7 separate regions of the Homo sapiens genome follow, and regions 1, 2, 3, 4, 5 and 6 are each linked to region 7. Evidence: promoter capture Hi-C in human tissues and cell types (Jung and others, 2019). All regions are on one chromosome and are shown on one strand. The core of a region is centred on a gene start or on the middle of the fragment in contact, and the rest is flanking DNA. Distances in the headings are between cores, read along the strand shown. Region 1 overlaps CLYBL (citramalyl-CoA lyase). Region 2 overlaps CLYBL (citramalyl-CoA lyase). Region 3 overlaps CLYBL (citramalyl-CoA lyase). Region 4 overlaps CLYBL (citramalyl-CoA lyase). Region 5 overlaps CLYBL (citramalyl-CoA lyase). Region 6 overlaps CLYBL (citramalyl-CoA lyase). Region 7 holds the start of GGACT (gamma-glutamylamine cyclotransferase).

Region 1 (2,901 bases), core at 302-2,801, 960 kb before region 7:
TAATATATACATATATTACATACATATATGTGTGTGTATATATAATCAAATGCCCATAAATTGAAGATTCATTAAATACAGGGATAGTCATACCATAGTAATGACGTAGCTGTTAAAAAGAATAAGGTAGTTCCCATAAATGGTAGAATAGCTTGATTGTACTAATCCCCCTGTATTTTATGTAGATTTGTAAGATTCACACCAAATTTTTTTTTTTTGAGTTGGAGTCTCGCTCAGTCGCCCAGGCTGGAGTGCAGTGGCGTGATCTCGGCTCACTGCAACCTCCACCTCCCGGGTTCAAGCGATTCTTCTGCCTCAGCCTCCTGAGTAGCTGAGACTACAGGCACGCACCACCACGCCCAGCTAATTTTTGTATTTTTAGTAGAGACGGGGTTTCACCATGTTGACCAGCCAGGATGATCTCGATCTCTTGACCTCGTGATCCACCCGCCTCAGCCTCCCAAAGTGCTGGGATTACAGGCGTGAGCCACCGCACCTGGCCACACACAAAGTATTTTTAAAAACTATTGTAAGTCACCAGAAAGCAAGCAAAATCAGGCAGAAACTGGAGGAGAATCTACCTCAAAAGACAAACTGCGGTGGATAAGGTTTGCAGGTTTGTAGCTTTAACCTGAAGGTACTCCCAAAGCTAATTAAGTGGCCAAAAGCCGCAGCCTTACTGTATTGCGATGTTAGAGGGCAGAGGTAGAAACTGGCAGAGCTGGCAGAGCAGTCAGAAAATTAAGAGGGAAACCCCAGAGAGGAGGGAGCTACAGAGGGCACAAACACCCAAATCTGCATATGAAATTGCACAAATCCTTGGTTGGCTACTAAACTATGTGTCTGCAAACCTGGTGAAAAAGTAGCAGCTTTAAGCCTGAAAAAAACTAAGCAAAGATCTTGGCCACTGCCTACCATAGGGAAGACAGAACTTGGTATTTGTGTTCAGCCAAGTTAGCTGTCTGCTAGAACAAAAATTAGTCTTCAGAGAAATGTGCAGAATCTGGAATCTCTATAACATATCGATCATCATGTCCAGTGTCCTATCAGAAACCACTAGAGGCCGGGCATTGTGGCTCATGCCTGTAATCCCAGCACTTTGGGAGACCAAGGCAGACGGATTGCCTGAGGTCAGAAGTTTGAGACCAGCCTGGCCAACATAGTGAAACCCCATCTCTACTAAATATACAAAAAAAATTAGCCAGGTGTGCTGGTGGGCACCTGTAGTCCCAGCTATTCAAGAGGCTGAGGCAAGAGAATCCCTTGAACCTGGGAGGCGGAGGTTGCAGTGAGCCGAGATTGTGCCACTGCACTCCAGCCTGGTGACAGAGTGAGACTCCGTCTCAAAAAAAACAAAACAAAAACAAAAAAACCCCACTAGATAGAGGTAGAAATGGGAAAAAAGTAGATAATAGAAGCCAAACTCAAGATGATAGAGATGTTACAATTAATAGACAAGGACTTTAAAGCATCTACCATAAATACATTCAAAGACTTAATAAAAATGTATACACAATGAATGAACAGATAGGGAGTATCAGCTTAGAAATAGTAGCTATGGGCCAGGTGCAGTGTCTCACACCTGTAATCCCAACACTTTGGGGGCCCAGGTGGGTGGATCACTTGAGGCCAGGAATTCATGACCAGACTGGCCAACATGGCAAAACCCTGTCTCTAACTAAAAATACAAAAATTAGCCAGGTGTGGGAGACTGAGACAGGAGAATCTCTTGAACGTGGGAGGCAGAGGTTGCAGTGAGCCGAGATCATACCAGTGCACTCCAGCCTGGGCAACAGAGCAAGATCCTGTCTCAAAAAAAAAAAAAAAAAAAAAAAAAGAGAAGAGAAGAAAAGAAATAAGGCCAGGTGTGGTAGCTAATGCCTGTAATCCCAGCACTTTGAGAGGCAGAAGTGGGCGGATCACTTGAGGTCAGGAGTTTGATACCAGCCTGGGCAACATGGCAAAACCCCGTCTCTACTAAAAATACAAAACTGGGCATGGTGGCACGCATCTGTAATCCCAGCTACTTGGGAGGCTGAGGCACAAAAATCGCTTGAGCCTGGGAGGTGGAGGTTGCAGTGAGCCAAGATGGCACCACTGTACTCCAGCCTGGGTGACAGTGCAGGACTCTGTCTCAAAAAAAAAAAAAAAAATAGCTATGAAAAAGAGCTGAAAGGTTAGTGGTTGCCAGAGGTTGAGGGGAGGAGGGAATGGGAAGTGATTGTTTAATGCATATGGGGTTTCCTTTTGTGTTGATGAAAGTGTTCTTGAGCTAGTGGTGAGGCTTGTACAGCACTGTGAATTTTAAACTTTAAAATGGTGAAAATTGTGAATTTTATGAAAAGAGAGGTGAAAATACATGAACTAAATAGAAATTTTTACCAGTAAGCTCAATAGCAGACAAAGTTAACTGAAAAATAGATCAATCGTATGTACTCAGTTTGAGGAAAAGAAAAAGATTGAAGAAAAGCAAATAGAGCCTCAGAGACCTGTGGGACAGTACCAAGCAGTCTAACATGTATAGTTGGAGTTCCAGAAGCAAAAAAGAGATTAGGGCAGAAAAAATATTTGAGGGGATAATGACCAGAAATGTTCCAAATTCGGTGAAATCCATTAACTCACTGATCCCTTAACAAACACTCAGCAAGATAAATTAAAACACACACATGCACATGAGAGCCACATTGCTGAAATCCAAAAATAAGAAAGTCCTGAAAGCTGCCTGAGAAAAAAAGAAGGTGCACAGAAGGAACAATAATATAACTAACAGCCGACTGCTTATCAGAAACAGTGGAGAGTAGAAGGTAAACGTATTGAAAGACAAAATATCAACCCAGGGTTCTACGTCCAGCAAAACTATCCTTCAAAATTGAAGCCCAAATAAAGACCTTTATAATTAAA
Region 2 (2,814 bases), core at 194-2,693, 920 kb before region 7:
ATATTTCTAGTAGTCAAAATAAACATTCGCTCTTAAATTTTACTAGTCAACTCATTTCACATTCACCTGATTCCCTCTAAAAACAAAAATCTTTCTACTATTCCAATTGGCAAATGGTCTGTTTTGGAACAAAAGGATAGATGCATTTGAAGAATTCTCTGGTCACCTGAGAAATGAAGGTTTGCCCATCATTTTTTATTAATGCTTGCCAAGTAATTAGGTATGAAAAGATGAGGAGCAAAAATAAATCTTCATCTTCAATAGAACATTAGAGGCTGGGCATGGTGGCTCACACCTGTAATTCCAGCACTTTAGGAGGCCGAGGTGGGAGGATTGATTGAGGTCAGAAGTTCGAGAACAGCCTGGGCAACATGGTGAAACCCTGTCTCTACATAAAATACAACAAATAGCCATACATGGTGGCACATGCCTGTAGTCCCAGCTACGTGGGAGGCTGGGGTGGGAGGATCGTTTGAGCCCAGGAGGCAGAGGTTGCAGTGATCCAAGATCATGCCACTGCACTCCAGCCTGGGCGACAGAGTGAGCCCTTGTCTTAAAAAAAAAAAATCTTTAATAGAACACTGGCGGCCGGGCATGGTAGCTCACGCCTGTAATCCCAGCACTGGGAGGCCAAGGCAGGTGGATCACCTGAGGCCAGGAGTTCGAGACCAGCCTGACCAACATGGTGAAACCCCATCTCTATTAAAAATACGAAAATTAGCTGGGTGAGATGGCAGTTGCCTGTGAATCCCAGCTACTCGGGAGGCTGAGGCAGGAGAATCACTTGAACCTGGGAGGCGGAGGTTGCAGTGAGCTGAGATTATGCCACTGCACTCCAGCCTGGGAGACAGAGCGAAACTCCATCTCAAAAAAAAAAAAAAGAAAAAAAGAATATTGGCTATTTGAGCAAGATGAATGTATTTTGGTAGATAGAAGAAAAATGAGAACTATCGCTCATCACTGCTGATGTCTAAATCCCCTCCCTGGGCATGAGGATGGTACAATGACACAGCAACCCCAGCCTGCCGGGCTTCTGGGATGCCAAGCTGGGGGTGTCCTGGCCAGGTCCAAGGTGCTGGAAGCCAATCCAGAAAATAGGATGAAGGGATAAAATCACACTCCAAGGCCGTGATATGATTGAATCAAGGTGTTAATCTAGGTGAAGAGTGCAGAAGCCAGATTCACTAGGGGCTCCAGGGCAGGACAAGCTGGTTCAGCGGGGAGAAGGCAGGAGGCAGATGCCCAAGAAGTGTGGGCAGATCTAGGGGTGACTTTATAGGCCCTCAGCTTTTTTTTTTTTTTGAGATGGAGTTTTGCTCTGTCACCAGGCTGGAGTGCAGTGGCGCGATCTCGGCTCACTGCAACCTCTGCCTCCCAGGTTCAAGCGATTCTCCTGCCTCAGCTTCCCAAGTAGCTGGAACTACAGGCATGTGCCACCATGCCCAGCTAATTTTTTTGTATTTTTAGTATAGAAGGGATTTTACCACGTTGACCAGGATGCTCTCGAGCTCTCAACCTCATGATCTGCCCGCCTCAGCCTCCTAAAGTGCTGGGATTACAGGTGTGAGCTGCCGCGCCCGGCCAGGTCCTTAGCTTTGAATGGGGAGTGAGGCATTAGGGGCATGGAGACACGTGAAGAACATGTAGCTTGTCCTTTCTTCCTTCCAGAGCTTTCTCTAGCCATTTGCAAAAATTCCACAAGCACATTATGCAGTCATTTTTCTAGGAACTGGAGAGAGGGGAGAGGTGGATGGGAGGGGAGGGTGTCATAAGCCTTGAAAAAGTTAGATATTCCAAAGAACCTTAGCTTTTCCCAAATAGGAAATGGAGAGTTGGGTGGTAGTTTCAAATCATTATTTCATTTTCTTTACCTCTGAAAAGATTTCTTAGTTTACTGAGAGCCTACCTTCAATTGCATGGATGTTGTACATTTTCTTTTTCATTTCCCATGAAGATCCCTATTTTTAGCTTTTAAGAGCTGTTACTCACAACTGAGATACAAACAGTGTTCTGCACCCCACACAGCATATATCTCATGATTAGTGACAGGGTTCCTAGAACTGCAAGACAAGTTTGGGCTTACTCAATCTGTTAAGTTTCCTTATAGGCATATTTTTTCATTCTATTGTTTTAGCAAGGGGCCTATTAGAAATTTCCATGTGTATAAATGACACTTTAAAGAGCTGGGTGCAGGCTGGGCGCCATGGCTTACGCCTGTAATCCCAGCATTTTGGAAGGCCGAGGCAGGCAGATCATTTGAAGTCAGGTGTTCGAGACCAGCCTGGCCAACATAGTGAAACCCCGTCTCTATTAAAAAAAAAAAAATGAAAATTAGCCAGGCATGGTGGCATGCACCTGTAGTCCCAGCTACTCAAGAGGCTGAGGTATGAGAATTGCTTGAACCTGGGAGGCGGAGGTTGCAGTGAGCTAAGATCGTGCCACTGCACTCCAGCCTGGGTGACAGAGCAAAACTCCATCTTAAAAAAAAAAGAGCTAGGTGCAGTGGTGCATGCCTATAGTCCCAGCTACTTGGGAGACTGAGGTGGGAGGATCACTTGAGCCCAGGAGTTTGAGGCTATAGTGAGCTATGATTGCGTCTGTGAATAGCCACTGCGGTCCAGCCTGAGCAAAGTAGCGAGACCCTGTCTCTAAAAAAGTAAAAATTAAATTTAAGAAGTTCTTCACCATCCAAGTTATGTTACGTGGAATTTCCCGTGGCAGTTTCCTGAAACATAACTTGTTTATGTTTCCTGAAACAAAACTTACCTGCAGTTTCTAGACACGTGCTCTAAAAACAGGCATCTACTGGCCTGT
Region 3 (2,726 bases), core at 166-2,665, 760 kb before region 7:
GCCTTTTCATGTCATCTTTTTTTCTTTCTTGCTCATTGCTTGTTATTTCACTGTGAGCCTTGCAAATATGGAGGGCGGCAGAGGTGCCAGGCTCCATCACGGTGTCCAAAAATTGGCTTTGTACATATGCTGAATTAGAGATTGGCTGGCAGAAGCAGTGTGCAGACCCTAGATTGGCAGGGATTCCTCGTGACGGAAGACAGGGCTATGAACCCACGGGATGTACTCTGAAGCCAGCAGCCATGCAACGTGCTGCATCCCCACATGCCAAAACCTGTTTTCAAATACATTCAGAATCTGCATCAGGCATCAGATCCCACCCAGGTAACGCCCTCCAAAACTCGAATCCCCTTTCCTTTCTCATGAGGAAGGGAATGTGTTGAACCTGTCACAGGACAGAGATTTGAAATTTTTCACCCAAGGCTCCAGGTCATTTTAGTCACCACCTCTTGTGAATAGGCACCGTAGCATCCAAGGAGGAAGGTAGGAATCTTGCAGATGCAAACCTTCCTGTTTTTTTTCTTCCTTGGAAATAAGCAAACTGCCAAGGCGGTTCTGATGCAGGAAGAATGAATGCAGTGAAGGAACACGTTAAGACAGCCGGAGCAGGGAAGTCCATGCCAAAAAGATCCGCCATCTGGGGCTTTTTTCTCACTGTGTCAACCAGAAAATGCCTCTCTCATGTACAAGTAGCTAGTTGGTGGCTTTACTCTTCCCAAGAGATCTACTTTATTTTATGGGCAATGATGAGTTTTAATAAAAGCAGGGTTGTTGTTGTTGTTGTCATTACTGATCTTGGGTTTCTGGTTTATCTTAGAATTGAGCACTAGAAAGGAAGTGAGGAGAATTATTTTCTAGACCAATAGGTGCTTTTGACTCAAATGATGACATTGGACACTTCTAGGAACCTTTAAAGTAGGGACATTAGCTCCAGTTACGTCACCTTTCCTCTAAGGGTACAGTGAAGGATCAGGAGCTGAACAAGCTGACCTCAGTCCCAATCAACTCCGAAATGTGACAGCTGATTAGAGCCTTGCAGCCTTTCAGGTACTGTTTAATCATTTACTCGCTTGAGTGTATAAGCTCCGTGAGAGCGGAGAGCCTGTCTGCCCATAGCACACACTCAGGAAATATTGTTGAATATGATCATTGGGTTGATGGTCTCACGGGGTGGCACCAAGGGGGCCAGCATGTCAAGCGTAATTCACACCGGAGCAAGCTTTGGGTCACATTCTGAATCATATGTGATGTAGTGAACAAGCTCTCGGATGGGCTTCAGGGGATGTGCGTTCAAGTCCTGGCTCTCCCCCCGGCATCAGAGTGACCTTCAGTCATTTGTTGATCTCTCTCTCGGACTTTTGTCTCCTTGTTTCTAAAATGACTAGATAATTGTAGAGCTTTCTTCAGCCCTAAAATTCTGTGATTCTGAAACTCAGCCAGTCATCTAAAAATGCATTTTCTGCATGATGAAAGATATTTATTAGGCCTAAGTGGAAGAGCCAGCATTCTTGATGAAAAGAATTACTCTATGCACACATCCTAAGGACAGTGGTTTAGATCAGTGCCCTCCTGGTAGAGATGAACAACACAACGGGAAGGACAGGCACTGACGCACATAAAGATGAGGAGGCTGAGCGTGGTTCCAGGCACCACTGCGGTATAGAAAGTGGCACCTAGAGCCAGCCAAGGACATAAAGATGGACTTGGAGACACTGGAGCAGTGTGGGTGCCCCTCAGCCCAGGAATGTTGCAGAGAGGAGTCATATGTGAGATTAGGGTTGCCCCAAGTTACCTCTAAGTTCTGTCCAACTCAACTACTCTGTGAGTCTGTGACAGTCCCTAGCTCTGTGTCCTAGGACACAGTGACACCCCTAGAGATCTTACCAAAGACCTCAAATAGTCCAGGCACTGTTCCTCTTAAGGGATGTAGAGAGGAGAGGGAGAGATGGAAAAGGGAGAACTCACCTTTGTTAACATACTGCTTTCTAATAACTCTTTTAAAGAAGTGTTCATTCCATTGTTCATGGAATATGCTTCCAGTCGTGGATTGCATTGAAAAGATAAGTCCATGTCCTAATCCCTGGGACCTGTGAATGTGACCTTATTTGGAAAAATGGTCTTTGCCGATGAAGTTAAGGATCTCGAGAAAAGACCATCATGGATTATCTGGGTGGGCCCAAAATCCAATGACAAGTGTCTTTTTAAGAGAAATCAGAGACACACAGAGGAGAAGACAGACACAGAAGAGAAGTCAGACACAGAAGAGAAGTCAGACACAGAGGAGAAGACAGACACAGAGGAGAAGGGCACATGAAGGAAGAGGCAGGGGTTGGGTGGCGGCAGCTGCAGGGACTGCCAGCAGCCAGCAGGAGCTGCAGGAGGCAAGGAGGATCCGCTAGAGAGGGACTGCGCCCTGCACACACCTCAAGTCCACATTTCTGGGCTCCAGAACTATGAAAGAATACATTTTTGTTGTTTTAAGCTGCCAATTTTATGGTCATTTGTTATGGTGGCCCTAAGAAACTAATACACCTCAGATATATTATCATTGATACCATTAATCAGGAGCTGCAAGGTCTCTTTTCCTAATTAACATCATGGTTGTTCTTACTAATAATAAGAATAAAAGAACTCTCAGGGAGGCAGGTGGAGGGAGAGCATCAGGATAAATAGCTAATGCATGCTGGGCCTAATACCTAGGTGATGGGTTGATAGGTGCGGCAAAC
Region 4 (2,700 bases), core at 106-2,605, 790 kb before region 7:
CCTGCAAGGCCTCCTGTAGTCACCTGTTAGACTGCAGAACCGGGGAGGCACTCCATTTGTCAGTGTGAGTTGCTCAGAAAGAAACGCCCAATATCATTCAAAGTTATTGGCTTATTATTAGTCTTTATTATTAATTTATTAGTACTCTTTATTATTATTACTTTAATTGCCATACAGATGGAGGGTCCTTTCCACCTGAGCATATATATTCTCTCTACTTTGTGCTCTCATTTATACTTCTTCTTGTGCACATGTGCATACATAACACACACACACACACACACACACACACACACACAAAGTACGTAGACCTTAAAGCCCCATTTATGCTTACATAGACACACCGTACACATACACGAATCCATTTGGCTAACTTTTAAATTCCTCAGTGCTGTCACTTTTGTTGAAATAAATTAGTGGAGTGGCTAGGTGTATACTTCCCACAGCGAGCCAGTGAACTAATGTGCAGGGAATGATTAAATGTATACAGGGGCATGGGGAGCCAACTCCTCTTCAATAGGGGTGTGAAATTAGGATGGGAAGGCTCCTCTCCCAGGTGCCTTGCTTTTATTAAAAGACTTAAGAGCTCAGGAGATGTCTTCAATAGGAATTAGGATATCTGAGTCTTTCTGGAACAGTGTGGAAAGCTGAACTGTGCTTAGGAACTCTGCAAGGTCTTTTTGATCCTTAAAGGTTCTGATATAAAAACCTATCCAGGTTTTTATAAAAGTAGTAAAGTGTTTTCAGTCTTTTATTAATCTCTTCATACCCTTAAATAACCTTTCCCCTTTTGAACAGTAATTGTTAAAAAATAAATAAAAAACAACAAAAAATTTTTTCTCATTGTTTTATTCTTCAAACCAGGCATCCTCTTAATGCAAGGATTCAAATATCTCTATTAGGGTCATAATAGTCAGCAATTTCCATTTAATGAGATCAGCAAAGTCTCTTTTCAAAGAGATGCAGGCTTTAAATTGCCAGTTATTTCTTTTCCTGCAATTCCTAGGAATCCAATTAAGTAAGACTGAGTATGATCTATAATGTGATATATCTGGCTACAGAAAGCCCGGGCCTAGGCAATAAAACAGATCTTTGAGCTCCAGCTCAAAATTAAGATTAAAAAAAAAAAAAAGAAAGAAAATGCAGCTTAAATGATTCAAAGCTTTATAAATGTGGAAACTGCATCCATTTCCTCTAATATGAAGTAAGAAATAGCTTCGAGACTATGGTGAAAATCATTAAAGTTACTTATTCCAAATATAGCTACTAATTAAAATCTCTCCGTTGGACCAGGACCACAGGTGATTTTTACAAAATAAATTTAAGAGGTTTTGGTTTGCTAAATCTGTGACTAACGAATCAAATATGTGGCCAGGCGCCGTGGCTCATGCCTGTAATCCCAGCACTTTGGGAGGCCGAGGCAGGCAGATCACCTGAGGTCAGGAGTTCGAGATCAGCCTGGCCAACATGATGAAACCCTCTCTGCACTAAAAATACAAAAATTAGGTGGGCATGGTGGCACACACCTGTAATCCCAGCTTCTGGGAGGCTGAGGCAGGAGGATCACTTGAACCCAGGAGGTGGAGGTTGCAGTGAGCCAAGATTGCACCACTGCACTCCAGCGTGGCTGACAAGAGCAAGACTCCATCTCAAGAAAAAAGATTCAAGTGTATATAACCACTGCCAAAATAAAGAGAAGATAGTGTGAAATCATGCAGAGAACATGCTTCATATCAAAACATAGTATTCTTTTCAGTTTTTAAAAATTTCATTTGCCACAATTTATAACAGTATTAAATACTATATTTTCATTTATTATTATTATTATTATTATTATTTTGAGATGGAGTCATATGCTGTCACCCAGGCTAGAGTGCAGTGGTGCTGTCTTGGCTCACCACAACCTCCACCGTCTGAGTTCAACCAATTCTCATGCCTCAGCCTCCCGAGTAGTTGGGATTACAGGCATGTGCCACCACACCTGGCTAATTTTTGTATTTTTGGTAGAGGCAGGATTTCACCATGTTGGCCAGGCTGATCTAGAACTCCTGACCTCAGGTGATCCATCTGTCTTGGCCTCCCAAAGTGCTGGGATTATAGGTGTAAGCCACCACACCCAGGCTAAATACTATGTTTTTAATAATAAATCAGTGGGTGTATTTTAAGTCATAATTTAGTATTCTGATTTAGAGACAGAGTTCAGCAATAATATCATACTTTTGCCATGTATTTTTAAATATATCAAAGCTTCTCAGGATGGTGGTAGTGGTGGTTTAAATCTTATTCTGTACCGGCTATGCAGGCCGCATGGTGTTTTGCTGATAACAGAGGAGGAAAGTGTGGCTCGTGAGGAGCAAATGTCAAGTCAGGAATTAACTCAAGACACAGCCTGCCCTTCTACTAAAAATGTGCTATTTCAAATATGTTTTTGCAATTTCCTCCATGTAATGCAGTTGTGTTAGCCATTTATTGGTCAGAAATTAACCTCCAAAAGTTAACAGTTGGGCCCTGAATTCTCAGCCAAGTCTAGTCTAAGAAGCAGCATATTCTTGGGCAAGTTATTGATTAACTCCAGGTAATTAAACCAAAAAGACTTTTCTAGGGCCAGGGATAGTGGCTCACACCTGTAATCCTAGCACTTTGGGAGGCTGAGGAGGGAGGATCACTTGAGGCCAGGAGTTCAAGATCAGCCTGGGCAAC
Region 5 (3,030 bases), core at 464-2,963, 940 kb before region 7:
AAAATTCTCAGGGTGGTGAGATACTCCAGCTCCTTTCTGTCTCTGCCATGGCTCATGCTGCTGCTTCTCCCTACAGAGCCCTCCTCTCATCTTCCTTGAGATCTTGCTGACCAAATATCTTCTCTTCTGATGACTTAGCAGTCACCCACACTGCCGTGGGCCAGCAGACACCCTTCCTCTGCCTTCCAGTAGCTTTGCCCAATGTGATCTCTGCTCTTTGTACCCTGTGCTGTCTCCCATGTTAGATCCAACCACCTAGGTCATAGCGCTACTGCTGGTACCTGATTGCAGGCCCAGCATCTGTCTTGGTGCCAAGCACATGACAAGAACTGAATAAATAGGCCAGGTGAGGTGGCTCACGCCTGTAATCCCAGCACTTGGGGAAGCCAAGGCGAGTGGCCTGACGTCAGGAGTTCTAGACTAGACTGGCCAACATGGCTAAACCCCATCTCTGCTAAAAATACAAAAATTAGCTGGGCGTAGTGGCGCATGCCTGTAATCCCAGCTACTTGGGAGGCTGAGGTGGGAGAATCGCTTGAACCCAGGAGACGGAGGTTGTAGTGAGCCAAGATCACACCACTGCACTCCAGCCTGGGTGACACAGCGAGACCCCGTCTCAAAAAAGAATTGAATAAATATTTTTTGAGTGAAATGGAATTCTGGGTTGTGGCTTTCCATCAGTTAAGATTCTTGGTTGTGGCCAGGTGCAGTGGCTCACGCCTGTAATCCCAACACTTTGGGAGGGAGAGGTGGGTGGATCATGAGGTCAGGAGTTTGAGACCAGCCTGGCCAACATGGTGAAACCCCGTCTCTACTAAAAATACAAAAAAATTAGCCAGGCCTGGTGGCACGTGCCTGTAATCCCAGCTACTTGGGAGGCTGAGGCAGGAGAATTGCTTGAACTCGGGAGGCAGAGGTTGCAGTGAGCCGAGATCATGCCATTGCACTCCAGCCTGGGCGACAAAGCAAGACTCCATCTTGGGGGGAAAAAAAGATTCTTGGTTGTAAGCAACAGACACCACATCTGGCTTTGGCAAGAGGGGGTTTTCCTGGAAGGATATGGACACATTCACACCGTCGGTGGAAAGCAACTGTAGGCATGCCGACATGAATCCTTCTCCATTGTGTCCCTGCTCAGCCACGAGAACAGTGTGCTGCCAGGGTGCTCAGTCTGTAACTCTGCTCAGGATGCAGGCTCCAGGGAGGGAGTGTCCAACTGGGCTAATAGGGCCCACCCTTTGGCTCTGGGAGAGCTGGGCTCCTTGATGATAATCCCAGCACACTGTCAGCTGTGGGTAGGATGAGGCAAGTTCCTCAGGGGGTGAAGTGTGTTTTGGGATAGTCAACAGCCAGTGACTGTTCACCACAGGACTAAACCTTCCATTTCCAGTGCTCCAGTGCCCCAACTGGCCTGTCTGGTGTGATTTGCCAAGTGTTCTGAGCAAGCAGGGAAGTTGTCCATTAAAATACAGATATTGGCCAGACATGGCTCACACCTGTAATCCCAGCACTTTGGGAGGCTGAAGCGGGTGGATCACTTGCACTCAGGAGTTTGAGACCAGCCTGGGCAATATAGTGAGACCCTATCTCAATTAAAAAAATAAAAAGCAGATATCCTGGGAAGGGATAACACTATAGCCCCTGCTAGCCAGCATTGATTTGCCAAAAGTAGGACCTGTGGGTGCAGGATCCAGAGTAGCCATGGATGGATGAGGTGCGAAAGGGTCCCGAATGTTCCAGCAATGCTACCCAAATGGCAAGTGGTGTCGTGGCCTCTTTCACCTCCATACTCAGGGAGAAGCCACTCAGAGGCCTCCACATAACAGGCAGGCTCTCGCCTGGGTGTCGGAGGTGAGGATGCTACTGAAGCTTATTGCTTCTTAAGAATCAATCAAATCAAAACAATGGATGCCCTTCTCCCAAGTGGAAGGGCTGTGCTGGCCACCTTGTATGACTGACACAAAGTTGGGAAGAGTTGCAGTCATGAGCTGGGGAGACACACCCTAAAAGCAGATGAGCTGGTGGCGGTAAATAACACTCCCATGACGACAAGTGGGCTTTGCACGTGTGTGGTAGCAGGGCATGGCCCTGGGGGAGGTGGGGCTACCTGAGGAAAATCACAGGAGGCAGGAATGTATACTGTTTGTTGGGAAAAGACAAGCCAATCTGAAGGGCAAGGGTTTGTAGAGGGGAGTGGTGGAGAGTGAGGTTGGAAGGGTGTTTGGGTCCAGTTGTAGACAGCCTTGAATTCTAGGCAAAGACTTCAGATGTTGTTTTCTAAGCACTAGGAGCACCTGTGGATGTTTCAGAATGGGAGTATCATGATGGATGTACTATTTTTTAAAGAGCAGGAATAAGCAGCAGGCCACTGCTAAGGAATCTGTGTCATGAGGCTGTTAGCCTGGGGACAAGGAGGACCGGCCAAAAAAAAAAAAGTCCTGTATATAAGGGGGAGCACCCAGCACACTTAGGTTCCAGACCTCCATTCCTAGCAACTCACCTGTAACTCCTGGCAGGGGTCTCTGCCTCCCTCTACTCATCCAAAGATCATGGTGCTTGTTCACCAGCCTTATGATGATCCAAAGAAATAGTGATCTTTCATGTTTAAATAAACCTACTTAATTACGTGCATCTGTTTGGAAATTCAGACACACCACATGAGAAGCTACTGGGACTTTTTTCTCCTTTTCTTGGCTTCTCATTTGTTCTCTAGCTTTTTCTTTTTTTTTCATCCTGGCCAGTTATTAACCTTCTCCTCCACTTTTGAGTCTCATAATTGTCCAGATCTCCCAGGACGCTGACAGTGTGGTTTTGGTTCACTTGTTCCTTCTCCTGCTCAAATTTCAATTGATTCAAGGGTGATATGCTGGGTATGATGGGCTGGACATGCCCATTTTCATTCAACTCATCCATAACTAGGATATAAGTGAGGATACAGATTTGGGTGTTATGGCCAAAAGATCTTCAAATACAATGACTTTATCAAGGATAATTTCTTCCCCCCTCACTTGAAACATGGTTAGGTGGTGC
Region 6 (2,983 bases), core at 90-2,589, 900 kb before region 7:
CTGAGCTCACCGGCTCGGCCCAGCACCAGCACCACCTCCCCTCTGAGCATCTGGTGGCCTTGCTGATAACACAGTGACACAGCCATTTCCTTCTATAGCAGAAACATCTTTGGAGTTCTGTTTCCACAGTCCTTTGAGAGACACTCTCGAGGCCAGGAGCTGGCCTCAGACATAAAAGTATTTGTTTCAACAGAGAGAGAGAGAGAGAGAGAGAGACTCAGTGACTGCTTTTTGAGTGAATTGTTGTTGGCTCAGTTTCAGTAATGCAATGTTTTGCTTTAGATTAATTTACTAAGCAGTACTAAAGTATCATTTATATACATTATTGAATCTTGGGATGATTCTGTAAGCATTACTTTCTCCTGAAATCTCCACTTCTGTCTGGATAGTGGATTTTAGGATAGGTTTTTAAAATGGAAAACTTGACGCAGATTCAAATTTTCAACACAGCATTGAACGAATAGCATCAGTTGGGGACGAGCTATGCCACCAATTTAAAGTGTCTCAGCCGGGGTCAGAATTAGGAACTGTCTAAACAGGGAATTTCAGAAGGGCAGGGGAGGATATCAAGGCACAAATGGGAGGAAATAAGCCATTGTTCCTTTAGAAAGCTTAGTAACCTCGATAATGAGAGGCTATGAAATAGTTCTTTTTATAACTGTAACTTCTTAACTTCCCAGCCCTAATAGCTCCAAGGGTCACTTGCAGAGAGCTCCGGGGCTACACCTGCCTTGCATAGATTAGGGCCCGCTGCAGCTGTCTTCATTTGCAAGACTAAGGTGTAGCTCCAAGAGGCTGTAGGTCTCAGCATGGAGCACTCCTCCTCAATCTCAATAGGCTGGTGTTGCGGATTAAGATGGCCATTGCAAGCCAGGCTCAGAAATTGCAAGATGAGGCAGGTAACGATTTCCTGGGTTTTATGTATCAGGCCTTATGAGGTATGAAGCGGGAAACCTTTTATATGCCTGCCTTGAATTAGCCATACCTTTTACAATCAGCTCTGTTGAAGAGCAGCTGCCTGGACTATCTAGCATACCCATGGGCCAGGCATGCCTTTGGCACACACACAGGTTTGTAAAGAGCTTGTGAATCTATAGGATGATCTCTTGGTGAGGACAGAAGGGACCCATAGCTAGTCAGCATCGGACTGAGGGCTGGATCCACTTTTTCCTGTAATGTGCGTTTGTTTCACAGAAAATACAATTAGGATAATTCTTGTGTGTTCTCTACAGGAAGGAAGTAGTATACTGCTTGTGAATGGTAGGCTAAATGAGGGAACCATTAAAGGGTTTTTAATAGACTTTTGAACCAAAAGACATAAGGGACTATACTTACATTGCCTTAACTGAGAAATGTTTTGCAGTGTGAGAAGACTTAATCAAATCTTCATTACATACCTGGTCAGGGACCAGGCTGAATGTTTCTTTAAGCAATTGGATAAAATGCACATTGAAGACTTGTTAGTTATGTGAGAATATGTCTGACATGCTTATCATCTCTCCTGCGGGTGCCTGAGTATCAGATACTTGGTTTACTGTGTTGGGTTGAATGCTTCTGTTCTAATTTCTAATGAACTTTACCACCAGACTACTTGATCATGACTAAGCCCAGGAACAATGCAAATGGAATTGCCCCCTGATGGGGAGGAATGGGCCCAGATGGCCCTTAAAAGGTGATAATTAGGAAATATAGCATATCTGAGTAGCTAGAAAGAGAGAAACTTGTTAAAGACAGTCAATCTGTTTGAAGCAACGGTCTTTCCCTTAATTATATGCATTTTCATTTAGAGTTGCTTTAAAGTAAAATTTTTCCCAGGAAAAATTTTTATTAGTAGTGAAAACCTAGAAACCACACACATTTTTTGCTACTCTGTTTCAGATTATTGAAAATTCCTTCCTTCATACATTTTTTTTTGGTTTCCAGATCTGTGTAACAGACTCGCTGTGTGTGTTTTAGGGGCCGTTTTAGGTTATTTTAGCTCTTATGCTAAAACAGTGGGGGAGCGATTAAAAGTGAGAAAAATATTAGTATATATTTGTAAACTGAGCTTTTAAAATTAAAATAGTTGCAGGATATTACAGTCTGTGATTTCATATACTTTGTAAGATTGCCTTAAATGTATTGCCTTCTTGGCAGCATAATGCCAGATTTTTCTCCAATATGTCATTAAAATAATTTTACATATAACAAGTTGAACTTTTTAAAGACTTATATTTTAATCTGAATTAGCATATTTACTAATTATATTACTTATTTGGCTTTTCTTTAGTCCGATTCTTTTTTTTTTTTTAGTGTACAAACTTGGCATTACTCTTTAAGAATAACAAGTGAACTGGAAATGAGAGGGTGGTGACATGAAGAGAGAGAGAAGAAATACATTCCTTATATCTCTTCCAGCTCCTGCATGGAATGGAGGATCTGACAGTGGCCGTTCCTGGGTATTAAAGCCAGTGCAAAAGATAGAGCGTCCAAAAGGCAACTTCTTCCTTATTTGTGAAGTCAGAAAGTAAAATTTACATTGAAGTGCTAAGCTACATTATTCTGAATATTTTGGCAGTCATATTTGGGCAGATGAGTTGCTTTCCTGAAATTACTCAGCACCGTCATTCATCCTGACAAAAGCTAGTGGTACAGATGCACCTTTGGGACTGAGGCCAAGGTGAAACCTGCGTTTTCCAGGTCTGCCCACTCAGTTTTGGAAGGACTCTCAATAAAACCGGCCTCACACCCCAAGCATCACCCCTCCTGTCCTTAGTAAGTACACTCTGGCTGGAATCTAGGGTCCCAGCATCTAGCCCTTGGGACTTCACATAAATTCATCAAGTATCTTCCTCCACTCAAAAATCTCTTACAGAATCTTTGACATTTTAAGCTTCATTACTGCAAAGTGGATATAGTTCATTCTCAGCTTCAGGATTCCAGAAGCATACATACCAGGTCAGAATGGAGAGGCATCACGCTTTCCTTCAGCAAGCTTCAGGGG
Region 7 (2,793 bases), core at 52-2,551:
TGGCTTCTTCTGGGAATAGTTTCAGGAAAACAAGGCATTTTGGGAAAATACGGGCAAACTGCAGGTGCTCTTCATCTGAGCATTTCAATAAATTGAATGAGGCCAGGGAAAAGTCTTCACTTACAGGTAAATGTACATAAGGACACCTACGTGTGTGTAAGACCTACACTTTAAATAGGTCACCTTTAGTTTTTCATTAATCATTTCTCCTGGGACATTTAGCAAAACGAATAACTTGCTTTTAAAAAAGGCCACAAATCCCGGGTGCAGTGGCTCATGCCTGTAATCCCAACATTTTGGGAGGCCAAGGCGGGCGGATCACGGGGTCAGGAGTTCGAGACCAGCCTGGCCAACATGGTGAAACCCTGTCTCTACTAAAAACACAAAAATAAGCTGGGCGTGATAGCAGGCGCCTGTAATCCCAGCTACCCGGGAGACTGAGGCAGGAGAATCGCTTGAACCCGGAAGGCAGAGGTTGCAGTGAGCCGAGATCGCGCCACTGCACTCCAGCCTGGGCAACAGGGCAAGACTTCATCCCAAACAATAAAAAGGGCCAGAAATCGACTGCATTTTCTTATCACTTAAATATTAAATCAACTAAGCGTGGAGTTAAGAAGCTGTGTTCAAAAAACACTTAAGTCTGCTTTTGAGCTTGTGGCGTTGTCCTTGGCCCACAGAGTAAAACAGCAATGATAACCATAATTAATAATCAAGGCAGTAAATTTCTTCAAAATTTCAGAAGTTTCACTAATGGCTCCAAAGAAACCTTAGATCAGAAATTCACAAGTGCCAGGAGACGTTTTTAGATTTCTTTTGCAGCTTCTAGTCTCCTTACAAACAGGAAATCTTTAAAATGAAAAACAATTTCTGAGAAGTGTTAGCCCGGTTCAGCTGAGGTCCTCTGAAAGCCAGCGTGTGGGCTGTCACGCTTCCTTTACAGGGAAGCAGCGCCCGTGCGTGAGGCGGTTCCTGGCTTTTACCGCCCTCTGCCCGTTCTGGCAATCGCGCCCGTGGCCCCCGCGCGGGGCAATGGAGGACGCGTTTCGGGGTCCACCGTCCCCTCCCTCCGGCTGGCCTCGCCGGCCGGCGGCGCCCCAGGCCTCCTCCCTCACCCGCGGGGACGCCGAGTGCTGCGGCCTCGACCCGGACGCCGCGCAGGGAGCGACGCCCCAGGTTCCCGCGGGCGCCAGGACACCCCGCCTGGGGGGCGGAGCAGGCGCAGCCCCGACCCCCGCCCGGGCTCAGCGCCTCACCTGCCGGCAGCCGGGGCTGTCGGGGAGGGCAGGGCCAGGGCGGAAATGCAGGGCCGGGCCCGCGCCTCTGCTCCCAGGCCGCCCCCGGCGGCGCCCCCTGCAGGCGGAACGCGAGGCCCGCCAGCCCCTGCGGCGCCCTCGCACACACGTGGCCGCTCGCACAACTGGCCGCCTAACAGCCAGACCCACCCACGCCGATGCCCGCCGGAGACGCCCCGCCGCAGACACAGCGCAACCAGCTTCACACACCTGGGGACGCCCCACAGAAGTCACATCCACCCTAACACACCTGGGCACTCAGGCTCAAGCCCCGACTGCATGGTGGACCCTGACACACCTGGGCCACACCCCACAAAACAGACTCACAGACGACTCCACAAGCTTGGGGACACGCCACATCAAATGGACACACATGCACACACAAATGAACCCAAGCGCAGACACACTTGGGGATGCCAACCATGTGTGTATCTATCACATCACACACCACCAAGGCCCCCCAGCTGGGCATGCACACAGCCCTGATACCGAGTCCAGACCGCCATCTAGTCACACTGCCCACTTACTTACCAATACTCTTAAAATGAAACTGTGGCCGAAGGAGACAATGGAAGGATGACATCACCTCTTCCCTAGCTCCAGGACTAATTTAAGCCCCAGAAATTATAGGACTGAGAACCAAAATCGAAAGAGAACATTTTCCCTAGAGACAATGGGTTAAAGCAATGCCACTTGGGGGCCAGGTGGTAGGAATGGTACAGCTATGGAGAGAGTGACACTTCTGTCTCTCCGAAAGACACAAATCTGTGTTTATCAGATTAGCAATAATCCCCCTTAATCATTTCCTGCCCTTTCTACTTTCTCATGGATGTGGACTGATTGAAACCTTTATATAAACTGGTTTTTATCCAAACGTTTCCAACAATGCAGATGTAATTGTATTTTGAACAGATGTACAATTCCAAAAGAAATCTAAACCATCAGGTACATAAGTCGTTGGTTTTCACAGTTTTTTCTTGTCTTGGACACTTCATAATTAAATTGAAATGTATTAAAAAACCTTGTCTAGCTCATATTAATATTTTTTTTTTTTTTTTTTTTTTTTTTGAGACGGAGTCTCGCTCTGTCGCCTAGGCTGGAGTGCAGTGGCGGGATCTGGTTCACTGCAAGCTCCGCCTCCCGGGTTCACGCCATTCTCCTGCCTCAGCCTCCCAAGTAGCTGGGACTACAGGCGCCCGCCACTACGCCCGGCTAATTTTTTGTATGTTTAGTAGAGACGGGGTTTCACCATTTTAGCCAGGATGGTCTCGATCTCCTGACCTCGTGATCCGCCTGCCTCGGCCTCCCAAAGTGCTGGGATTACAGGCGTGAGCCACCGCGCCCGGCCTCATATTAATATTTTTAAAGACAGCAGTAATTCTTAACTTTTTGAAGCGAAAGAATGATTCCACTTTCATCTCTTTTTTGAGGGGGGAAAATCATGTCAGCAAAGGAAAGTGAGACAAATAGATAAATAATTCTTCTGATAAAGGAAAATTAA

Evidence for each region. The method cuts DNA at HindIII sites, captures the fragments that hold promoters and counts their contacts. A contact is called where the count stands out against the background at its distance.
Region 1: a contact is called between a fragment that was not itself captured here and the fragment with the promoter of GGACT in region 7, in 2 of the 25 tissues and cell types used here (lymphoblastoid cells and thymus).
Region 2: a fragment that was not itself captured here is called in contact with the fragment with the promoter of GGACT in region 7 in 1 of the 25 tissues and cell types used here (dorsolateral prefrontal cortex).
Region 3: a contact is called between a fragment that was not itself captured here and the fragment with the promoter of GGACT in region 7, in 2 of the 25 tissues and cell types used here (IMR-90 fibroblasts and lymphoblastoid cells).
Region 4: a contact is called between a fragment that was not itself captured here and the fragment with the promoter of GGACT in region 7, in 2 of the 25 tissues and cell types used here (hippocampus and spleen).
Region 5: a fragment that was not itself captured here is called in contact with the fragment with the promoter of GGACT in region 7 in 1 of the 25 tissues and cell types used here (dorsolateral prefrontal cortex).
Region 6: a contact is called between a fragment that was not itself captured here and the fragment with the promoter of GGACT in region 7, in 2 of the 25 tissues and cell types used here (dorsolateral prefrontal cortex and spleen).

What each region holds. Positions count from the first base shown.
Region 1 is chr13:99,631,399-99,634,299 of GRCh38, forward strand. The region is part of intron 1 of CLYBL (citramalyl-CoA lyase); the gene reads left to right. Among named protein-coding and RNA genes, the nearest start is that of MIR4306, 10 kb to the right of the region's middle. The HindIII fragment of the contact is 8,104 bases long and covers 1-2,901 here.
Region 2 is chr13:99,667,719-99,670,532 of GRCh38, forward strand. The region is part of intron 1 of CLYBL (citramalyl-CoA lyase); the gene reads left to right. Among named protein-coding and RNA genes, the nearest start is that of CLYBL-AS2, 22 kb to the right of the region's middle. The HindIII fragment of the contact is 4,692 bases long and covers 1-2,814 here.
Region 3 is chr13:99,828,766-99,831,491 of GRCh38, forward strand. The region is part of intron 2 of CLYBL (citramalyl-CoA lyase); the gene reads left to right. The region is part of intron 1 of CLYBL-AS3 (CLYBL antisense RNA 3); the gene reads right to left. Among named protein-coding and RNA genes, the nearest start is that of CLYBL-AS1, 100 kb to the left of the region's middle. The HindIII fragment of the contact is 5,772 bases long and covers 1-2,726 here.
Region 4 is chr13:99,792,770-99,795,469 of GRCh38, forward strand. The region is part of intron 2 of CLYBL (citramalyl-CoA lyase); the gene reads left to right. All of the region lies in intron 1 of CLYBL-AS3 (CLYBL antisense RNA 3), which reads right to left. Among named protein-coding and RNA genes, the nearest start is that of CLYBL-AS1, 65 kb to the left of the region's middle. The HindIII fragment of the contact is 4,897 bases long and covers 1-2,700 here.
Region 5 is chr13:99,650,952-99,653,981 of GRCh38, forward strand. The region is part of intron 1 of CLYBL (citramalyl-CoA lyase); the gene reads left to right. Among named protein-coding and RNA genes, the nearest start is that of MIR4306, 9.4 kb to the left of the region's middle. The HindIII fragment of the contact is 3,879 bases long and covers 1-3,030 here.
Region 6 is chr13:99,686,322-99,689,304 of GRCh38, forward strand. The region is part of intron 1 of CLYBL (citramalyl-CoA lyase); the gene reads left to right. LOC124903199 (a long non-coding RNA gene) reads left to right here. Exons shown (of 2, transcript XR_007063848.1): 2 at 2,293-2,983. Among named protein-coding and RNA genes, the nearest start is that of CLYBL-AS2, 3.2 kb to the right of the region's middle. RefSeq lists enhancers at 1-506, 507-1,265. The HindIII fragment of the contact is 3,167 bases long and covers 1-2,923 here.
Region 7 is chr13:100,587,488-100,590,280 of GRCh38, forward strand. It overlaps GGACT (gamma-glutamylamine cyclotransferase), which reads right to left and starts at 1,302. Exons shown (of 3, transcript NM_001195087.2): 1 at 1,254-1,302. RefSeq lists a silencer at 935-1,454. The HindIII fragment of the contact is 6,002 bases long and covers 1-2,793 here.